Linked DNA regions of Homo sapiens: regions 1 and 3 are each linked to region 2. The links are contacts of gene promoters, found by promoter capture Hi-C in human tissues and cell types (Jung and others, 2019). All regions are on one chromosome and are shown on one strand. Each heading gives the region's core, a stretch centred on a gene start or on the middle of the fragment in contact. The rest is flanking DNA. Distances are from core to core; before and after follow the strand shown. Region 1 has its middle 55 kb from the start of GALR1. Region 2 holds the start of GALR1 (galanin receptor 1). Region 3 has its middle 36 kb from the start of GALR1.

Region 1 (2,700 bases), core at 89-2,588, 55 kb before region 2:
AATAAGAAAAAATTTTTTAAAGAGTTTAAGGCCCCTCCTTAAAGAGAATGCAGTTTTCTCATCCATTTCCTATTTAAATAAATTGGGGCTCAAATGTCATTTAAAATTTTGAATGCTCATGAAATGACGAATTCTGTTTCATGCTGTCTTTGGCAATGCAATCACTTAAAAACTTTGCAGGCTTCTTATCCCCTTTGTTCAAGTCGATTCTGTATGCCAGCTGCCACACTCGAGGTCCTCAGGTCTGCTCTACAGACTGGATCAGCCTTTACGCCTGTCTCTTTTGCACTAGAAGGCAGCTTGAGGCTGTCTGGCTTCTGTAGGGAGCCTTGATCCCTTTATGCCTAGCGTTCCATTATTGGAACGCTAAGCACGTGGAAGTTATTTATATCCTACTGCTCAAGGTCATTGCCAAGGTCTGATCACAAAAATTCAAAAAATTATAATCTCAGGCATAAATGGGTTGATCTGACTCTTCTCATCTATCTAATAGGATTTATTGGGTGCAACATCTTAAATCTCATCTTTGCCACTTGACAAGTTAATCAGTTGGAAGATTTTACCAGGTGTCTGTCTCTAGAAATCTTTCTCAATATAATATTCATGATCTGGGGGCCAGAAACAGCCTGTGCTTCCAAATTTGAAAGGCACAGAATTGCTGGAGTTTCTCCATATCCTTTTACTTCTGCTTGCAAACTGGAAAATGCTTTCTCTTTCCTGTAGTGTATTTACAAAACCGAGTGGTTTCTTGCCCTAGAGCTGTACGTCCAACTGCTGCACAAGCTGTCTCTCGAGTTATCACTGACCTCAGTTACAGGCACTTGGCTAATACGTGTTGCCATCTTTCCAGACAGCGATAACAGTTTTACCACCACGCACCACGAGACCCTGAACCAATGATGAATATGCTGAGTTTTTGTTAAAATGGCACTGCCCTTCCAGTTTCAGGATGAGCTAGGGTAAAGCTGAGCAGTGAACCACCTCTGTATCTCGGTGTCTGCCACAATAGAAGCCCCACCAACCTCATCTCTGCTTAGGATGCACTAGCAAACAGCCGCGGCAGTCCAGTGATTTAACATACCCAATACTTATTTCTTATTCTTGCTGCCTAAAGGCAACACTTTTATGTTTAAGGTTTCTCCTTAAAGAGAATGCAGTCTCATGGGCCAAAACAGGTCTCTGATCTACAATCCTCTGAGACGCAGTTGCTCAGCCACAAATGCTTTGCTGTTCTTGCAGCTGCGCCATCTGGAGCACAGGCCTCCCCTGGTCATTAGTCAGCTCCTTCAAGCTTCAGCCACTGCCCACTGATGGGATCAGTCGTGCGTCCACCCAGCAGCAAGGAGCCTGAGATGTGCTTGGGCACCATCGCCATCGCCAGTGCTAAGAAGATAAAACAGTCTCTGTGCTGTTGCCACCAGATCTGCTGCAACGATTTCTTTACCTCTTACTCCTGCCTCAAGATATCCCAATCTGCATTCTTCCAATCCCATTCCAGCTCTATCTGCTCTCATTTAGGATTTTAGTCACTGCTGTGATGCCAAACCTAGGAGAGATCCCCCATCCTCATCGCAGCAGACTTGTCAGCAGTTTTTGATGCATGTGTGAGTGCATGTGTGTGCATATGTGCGTGTGTATGTGTGCATTGTGTGTGCGTGTACATTTGTACATGTGTGTGCATGTGTGCGTGTGTGCATGTGTGCATTTGTACATGTGTGTGCATGTGCACAGCATCCATCAGCATCAGCGTCTGCTAACTTAGGAAGATCACACACCTGGCTCTGTGTGAGGAGAAGGCTCTAGAAAGCAACATGAGACATTCACCCTAATTTTATTTTCAATTACAGATTAACGTTCATTGTTCTCAGACCTGGAGTTTCTTTTCTCAAAATTAAGTTGGTCTTTTTCTTGTGGATGGAATGAAGTGCTGCCAGCTGAAGCCAGGTTGATCTGGTGAGAGACGTCCAACAGATGAGACAGATGTGTGCAGCCTATTGAAAAACTGAGGCTTGAGCCTTTTAAAAACAGTCAAATATATTTTATATTGTTAAAAAAAACTGACAAAGATAAGTCCAAAGTGCTCACCTAGCCCCTGCAAGCCCTTCCCACCCTTGGTCCTGTGTCCTCTGCAGCCTCACGCTGTGCCATTCTGCCGCTGGTTTTCAGTGTTCCAGCCCGTAAAGACCTGCTTAGGATGCAGTCTTCATGCAAGACTGCAAAATAATCTTCTGCTTCAAGAGCTGTGTGTCTGTGGATCCACCACGTCCTGGTCTCTCTTCTCACCTTCCTGTCTGCCTGCGATTTTTCTCATCCACCTCCATACACTTGACACCTGTACGTTCTTTTTTAGGAATAGTTTCCTTGCCTCTGCAAACACAATGTTAGTCTATTCTCATGCTGCTAATAAACACATACCGGGGACTGGGTAATTTATAAAGGAAAGAGGTTTAGTGGACTCACAGTTCCACATAGGCTGAGGAGGCATCACAATCATGGCAGAAAGCAAAGGAGAAGCAAAGGCATGTCTTACACAGAGGAAGGCAAGAGAGCTTCTGCAGGGGAACTCCCATTTATAAAACCATCAGATCTCATAAGACGAATTCACTACCATGAGAACAGTATGGGGGAAACCATCTCCATGATTCCATTATCTCCACCTGGCCCTGACCTTGACATGCTGGGATTATTACAATTCAAGAT
Region 2 (2,700 bases), core at 32-2,531:
GGTCGGGCCACTGCTCCCAGCAGAAGGTCTGGTTGCTGGCGCGCGGGTGGAAGAGGCCCTGGTGGTAGGCCACGGGCGAGGCCATGGCAATGGACAGCGCCCAGATGCAGCCCACGCCCAGCAGCGCGTTGCGGGACACCCTGAGGGAGGAGGAGCGCCGCGAGTGCACGATGGCCACGTAGCGGTCCACGGACATCGCGGCCAGGGTGAAGATGCTCACCAGCATGGACACGGTGAAGAAGTAGTGGATGAACTTGCAGATGAAGGCGCCCAGCACCCAGGTGGGCAGCGCGTACACGGTGGCCTGGAAGGGGATGCAGAAGAGCAGGTAGGCCAGGTCGGCGATGCTCAGGTTGAGGATGAACAGGTTGGTGGTGCTCCGCGGCTTGCCCGGCTTGCTGCGCGCCAGCACGGTGATCACTAGGCTGTTGCCCAGCACACCCAGCGCGAAGATCAGGCCGAACACCACCAGCGTGACGAAGTTCTCCACGCCGATGCCGAACAGCGGCCCGGGCTCCGGGGCGGGGGGCTCCGGCCAGCTCGCGTTGCCCTCGCTGAGGTTCCCGACCGCCAGCTCCATGGCCCGCGGGGCTGTCCCGGCGAGCGGCGGGGCGCGCGGGGAGGGAGGGCGGGATAGTAGGCGCCGGGGGTGGCCAGGGGTCCCGGCGCAAAGCACGGAGAGTGCGAGTTTAGGAGTCTGAGCTTCCCCCGAGGCGCGAGCCAGCGGGAGCGGGGATCCGGTGGCCGTGCCTGGTGGCACCGTCTTTGCGCCGGGACCTTCTGAGAGAGGGTGGGTTCGGGAGCCCGGAGCTGGACCTTCTCGGGAAGGGACGGTGATCTCGAGAGCACTGGGGTCCCCTTCCCGGGCGCCTCCGCCCGCTGCGCGACCACGGAGCCTGGGAAGAGGGATCCGCCGGCTGCAGCCGCGCAGGTGGAAAGACCCTTCTCTCCGCCTTACCGCTCCAGATCTTCGCCGGCGGTTTTCCCTGGCTCCCGGAGGGGCTGCGTGCTGCACCTGTTGCTCGGAGCCGCTCCTTCCCGCGGCGCTTCCCCGCACTGCCCAGCGCGCAGCAGTGCACTGTGCGGCTCCTGCAGAGAAGGCTCCCCGCGCATCCCGCGCGCCCAGCGCCACCTCCCCAGTGGGCTGGCGCCTCCGACTCCCTCCCGGCTTTTCCAGGGATTCCGAGTCGTCCACAGGGCGAGAGCTCTTTTGGGAGGCTTCCTGGTGGTGGATAGAGTCGGGTGCCAGGGGCTTCTCTGCTGCAACTGAGAGGCGAAAACAGCTCGGCTGAAATCCGCGCCCCTTAGAAGTCACGGTGCGCGAGCAGAGACTGGACGGATTCTAGCGGGATGGGTCGCCGCCCACCTCCCGGCTGGAACCGGAGCGCGCTCGCCTCTGCGGAGTGCGGACCTGCCCGGCGGGCTGAAGGCGGGGCTGCCGGATGCCGCGGGCCAGGCGGGCGAGGGAAGCCGGGCGCGCTCCAGGGCGTTCCAGGGCGCGCCGGGGTGGGAGGCGGAGGGGTGCGCGGGCCTCCTCATCCATTAGTGCCTTTCCTCCTCCTCCTCCCCAGGGTGGCTGTCCGTGAGAACGCCTCTCTCCCAGGAATAACCCCAGGAAATCGAGGCTGGCGACGCTCCCTGGAGTTTTGTAAAATTGGCCGCCTAATCCCACCCTCACCCCGCGGCCTGCTACAGAGGAGAGAAGTGCAAAGGGAAAGGGCCGCGTGAGCTTCTCTATAGACGTGGCTGACATGGAAGGGGAAGGCTGTTCACACCACCCAACCTCACTTCATTTTTGCCTTGTATTACTCATCTGAGGGACATAAACTGCAGCAGTGACAAACGAAATATTTTTAAAGTGAAAGAAAGTGTTTAGTATCTTACTGCCGTAAATGTGGATTTGCCAGAAAGAAATTAAGCCGTTTCGGTATAGCAGGGCCAGTCACGTTAGCTTTGTAACCTTGGTGGTTCCCAGCTAGAGAGCTGACACTGATTCCTTTATTTGCGGTGATTTGTCTGTTTTCACTTTCAAAAACACCGATGCGTTTCCAGCATTCACCATCTGGTGACTGTCCATTATGCGCGGACGCAGTGCCTGAGGGGATGGGTAATCCAAAGACCAAAGAGGGCAGGGGCTCTTTGCCTTGAGGAGTTAAGGAAGTAGGATCTTGTTTTTCTACCTTGCTAGCTCTGTTCTGCCTCATTTCCAGATAAATCTTGATGCAGTTCATTGAACATCTATGTATTTTATCTACATTCATTGCTAGGGAGTTCCTTGCAAGGGAATTGTTCTATTCACACACATTTTCTGGAAGACAAAATTGAGTGTAAGCAACTTGCCTATTTGGGTATCCTGCTAAAGCCAAGAATGCTCTTACCTGCCCCGACCTGAGAGAATGCCTTGAAACTTCCTCAGGTGATCTTGCCAATCCGTATTGCTTTTCTTCCCTGAGACGCTCTCCGACCCAGGCTTTCAAAGTATCATGTTGTATTTGACAGCTCTGTTGCATTGAAAGTTAGTAGTAATATGATTTGGGAGAGTTTTTAAATTATGAACTATTTTCACATGAAACAGATATGATAAAATTACATTGAATACCAATGCACCCACCATCTAGCTTAGAATAATTTTTAAATATTATCACTAGAGTTGAAGTCACTTTTATATATTTTCCAGTCACAACCTCCACCTCTCCCACT
Region 3 (2,700 bases), core at 137-2,636, 36 kb before region 2:
ACTCCTATTCAACATAGTGTTGGAAGTTCTGGACAGGGCAGTCAGGCAAGAGAAAGAAATAAAGAGTATTCAATTAGGAAAAGAAGAAGTCAAATTGTCCCTGTTTGCAGATGACATGATTGTATGTTTAGAAAACCCCATTGTCTCAGCCCAAAATCTCCTTAAGCTGATAAGCAACTTCAGCAAAGTCTCAGGATACAAAATCAAAGTGCAAAAATCACAACCATTCTTATACACCAATAACAGACAAACAGAGAGGCAAATCATGAGTGAACTCCTATTCACAATTGCTACAAAAAGAATAAAATACCTAGGAATCCAACTTACAAGGGATGTAAAGGACTTCTTCAATTAGAAATACAAACCACTGCTCAATGAAATAAAAGAGGAGACAAACAAATGGAAGAACATTCCATGCTCATGGATAGGAAGAATCAATATCATGAAAATGGCCATACTGCCTAAGGTAATTTGTAGATTCAATGCCATCCCCATCAAGCTACCAATGACTTTCTTCACAGAATTGGAACAAACTACTTTAAAGTTCATATGGAACCAAAAAAGAGGCTGCATTGCCAAGAGAAGCCTAAGCAAAAAGAACAAAGCTGGAGGTATCACACTACCTGACTTCAAACTATACTACAATGCTACAGTAACCAAAACAGCATGGTACTGATACCATAACAGATATGTAGACCAATGGAACAGAACAGAGGCCTCAGAAATAACACCACACATCTACAACCATCTGATCTTTGACAAACCTGACAAAAACAAGAAATGGGGAAAGGATGCCCTATTTAATGAATGGTGCTGGGAAAACTGGCTAGCCATATGTAGAAACCTGAAACTGCATCCCTTCTTTACACCTAATACAAAAATTAATTCAAGATGGATTAAAGACTTAACTGTTAGACCTAAAACCATAAAAACCCTAGGAGAAAACCTAGGCAGTACCATTCAGGACATAGACATGGGCAAGGACTTCACGAGTAAAACACCAAAAACAATGGCAACATAAGCCAAAATAGACAAATGGGATCTAATCAAACTAAAGAACTTCTGCACAGCAAAAGAAACTACCATCAGAGTGAACAGGCAACCTACAGAATGAGAGAAAATGTTTGCAATCTACCCATCTGACAAAGGGCTAATATCCAGAATCTACAAAGAACTTAAACAAAATTTACAAGAAAAAATCAAACAATCCCATCAAAAAGTGGGCAAAGGATATGAACAGATACTTCTCAAAAGAAGACATTTATGCAGCCAACAGACACATGAAAAAATGCTCATCATCACTGGTCATCAGAGAAATGCGAATCAAAACCACAATGAGATACCATCTCATCCCAGTTAGAACGGCAATCATTAAAAAGCCAGGAAACAACAGATGCTGGAGAGGATGTGGAGAAATAGGAATGGTTTTACACTGTTTGTGGGAGTGTAAACTAGTTCAACCATTGTGGAAGACAATGTGGTGATTTCTCAAGGATCTACAACTAGAAATACCATTTGACCCAGCGATCCCATTACTGGGTATATATCCAAAGGATTATAAATCATGCTACTTTAAAGACACATACACATGTATGTTTATTGCAGCACTATTCACAATAGCAAAGACTTGGAACCAACCCAAATGTCCATCACTGATAGACTGGATTAAGAAAATGTGGCACATATACACCACAGAATACTATGCAGCCATAAAAAAGAATGAGTTTATGTCCTTTGCAGGGACATGGATGCAGGTGGGAACCATCATTCTGAGCAAACTATTGCAAGGACAGAAAACCAAACACCACATGTTCTCACTCATAGGTGGGAATTGAACAATGAGAACACTTGGACACAGGGCGGGGAACATCACACACCGGGGTCTGTCGTGGGGTCGGGGGCAGGGGGAGGGATAGCATTAGGAGAAATACCTAATGTAAATGACAAGTTAATGGGTGCAGCAAACCAACATGGCACATGTATACCTATGTAACAAACCTGCACATTGTGCACGTGCACCCTAGAACTTAAAGTATAATAATTAAAAAAAAAAAAGAATTCTCAAGTGAAGCCATCTGCTCCTGGATTTCTCCTTGTGGGAAGTTTTTTTTATTATTATAACTAACCCAATCACTTTACTGTGTGTTATTTTATCGTCCTCTTTCCCTATAAGATCAGTAGTATTGTTCTTCCTTTCATCTTGATTTTAGTCATTTAATTCTTTTCTGTTTTTCTTGGTCAGTCTTGTTAAGGCTTTTTCAACCTTTTAAAGGTTTTCAAAGACTGACTTTTGGTTTCATTGATTTTTTGCTACTCTGTTTCTATTCTCTAGTTCATCTGTTTCCACTTTAATCTTTATTGCTTCTTTCTTTCTGCTAGCTTTGGATTTAGTTTGCTCTTTTTTATAGTGTCTTAAGGTTGAAGGTTATATTATTGATTTGAGATGTTTCTTCTTTTTCAGCATAGGTGTTTACAACTCTAACCTTCTCTCTGAGCCCTACTTCTGTTACTTTCATGATTTTTGGTATCTTTTTAACTCACCACCGTGGTTTCCTATTTACCTTTTGATTTCTTTTGGGATCCATTTGTTATTTAGGAGCATGTGTTCAATTTCAACATATTTGTGAATTTCCCAAGTTCCCTTCTGTTATTGATTCTAATTCCCTTCCACTGTTGTCAGATAATATATTTTGTATATCG

What was found. The method cuts DNA at HindIII sites, captures the fragments that hold promoters and counts their contacts. A contact is called where the count stands out against the background at its distance.
Region 1: a contact is called between a fragment that was not itself captured here and the fragment with the promoter of GALR1 in region 2, in 1 of the 25 tissues and cell types used here (dorsolateral prefrontal cortex).
Region 3: a fragment that was not itself captured here is called in contact with the fragment with the promoter of GALR1 in region 2 in 1 of the 25 tissues and cell types used here (stomach).

Annotation. Positions count from the first base shown.
Region 1 is chr18:77,303,064-77,305,763 of GRCh38, reverse strand. No RefSeq gene overlaps it. Among named protein-coding and RNA genes, the nearest start is that of GALR1, 55 kb to the right of the region's middle. The HindIII fragment of the contact is 3,216 bases long and covers 1-2,700 here.
Region 2 is chr18:77,248,429-77,251,128 of GRCh38, reverse strand. It overlaps GALR1 (galanin receptor 1), which reads right to left and starts at 1,281. Exons shown (of 3, transcript NM_001480.4): 1 at 1-1,281. The coding sequence starts at 580. LOC124904329 (a long non-coding RNA gene) reads left to right here. Exons shown (of 2, transcript XR_007066422.1): 1 at 1-281; 2 at 1,572-2,700. RefSeq lists enhancers at 1-302, 974-1,645. The HindIII fragment of the contact is 7,211 bases long and covers 1-2,700 here.
Region 3 is chr18:77,284,696-77,287,395 of GRCh38, reverse strand. No RefSeq gene overlaps it. Among named protein-coding and RNA genes, the nearest start is that of GALR1, 36 kb to the right of the region's middle. The HindIII fragment of the contact is 5,849 bases long and covers 1-2,700 here.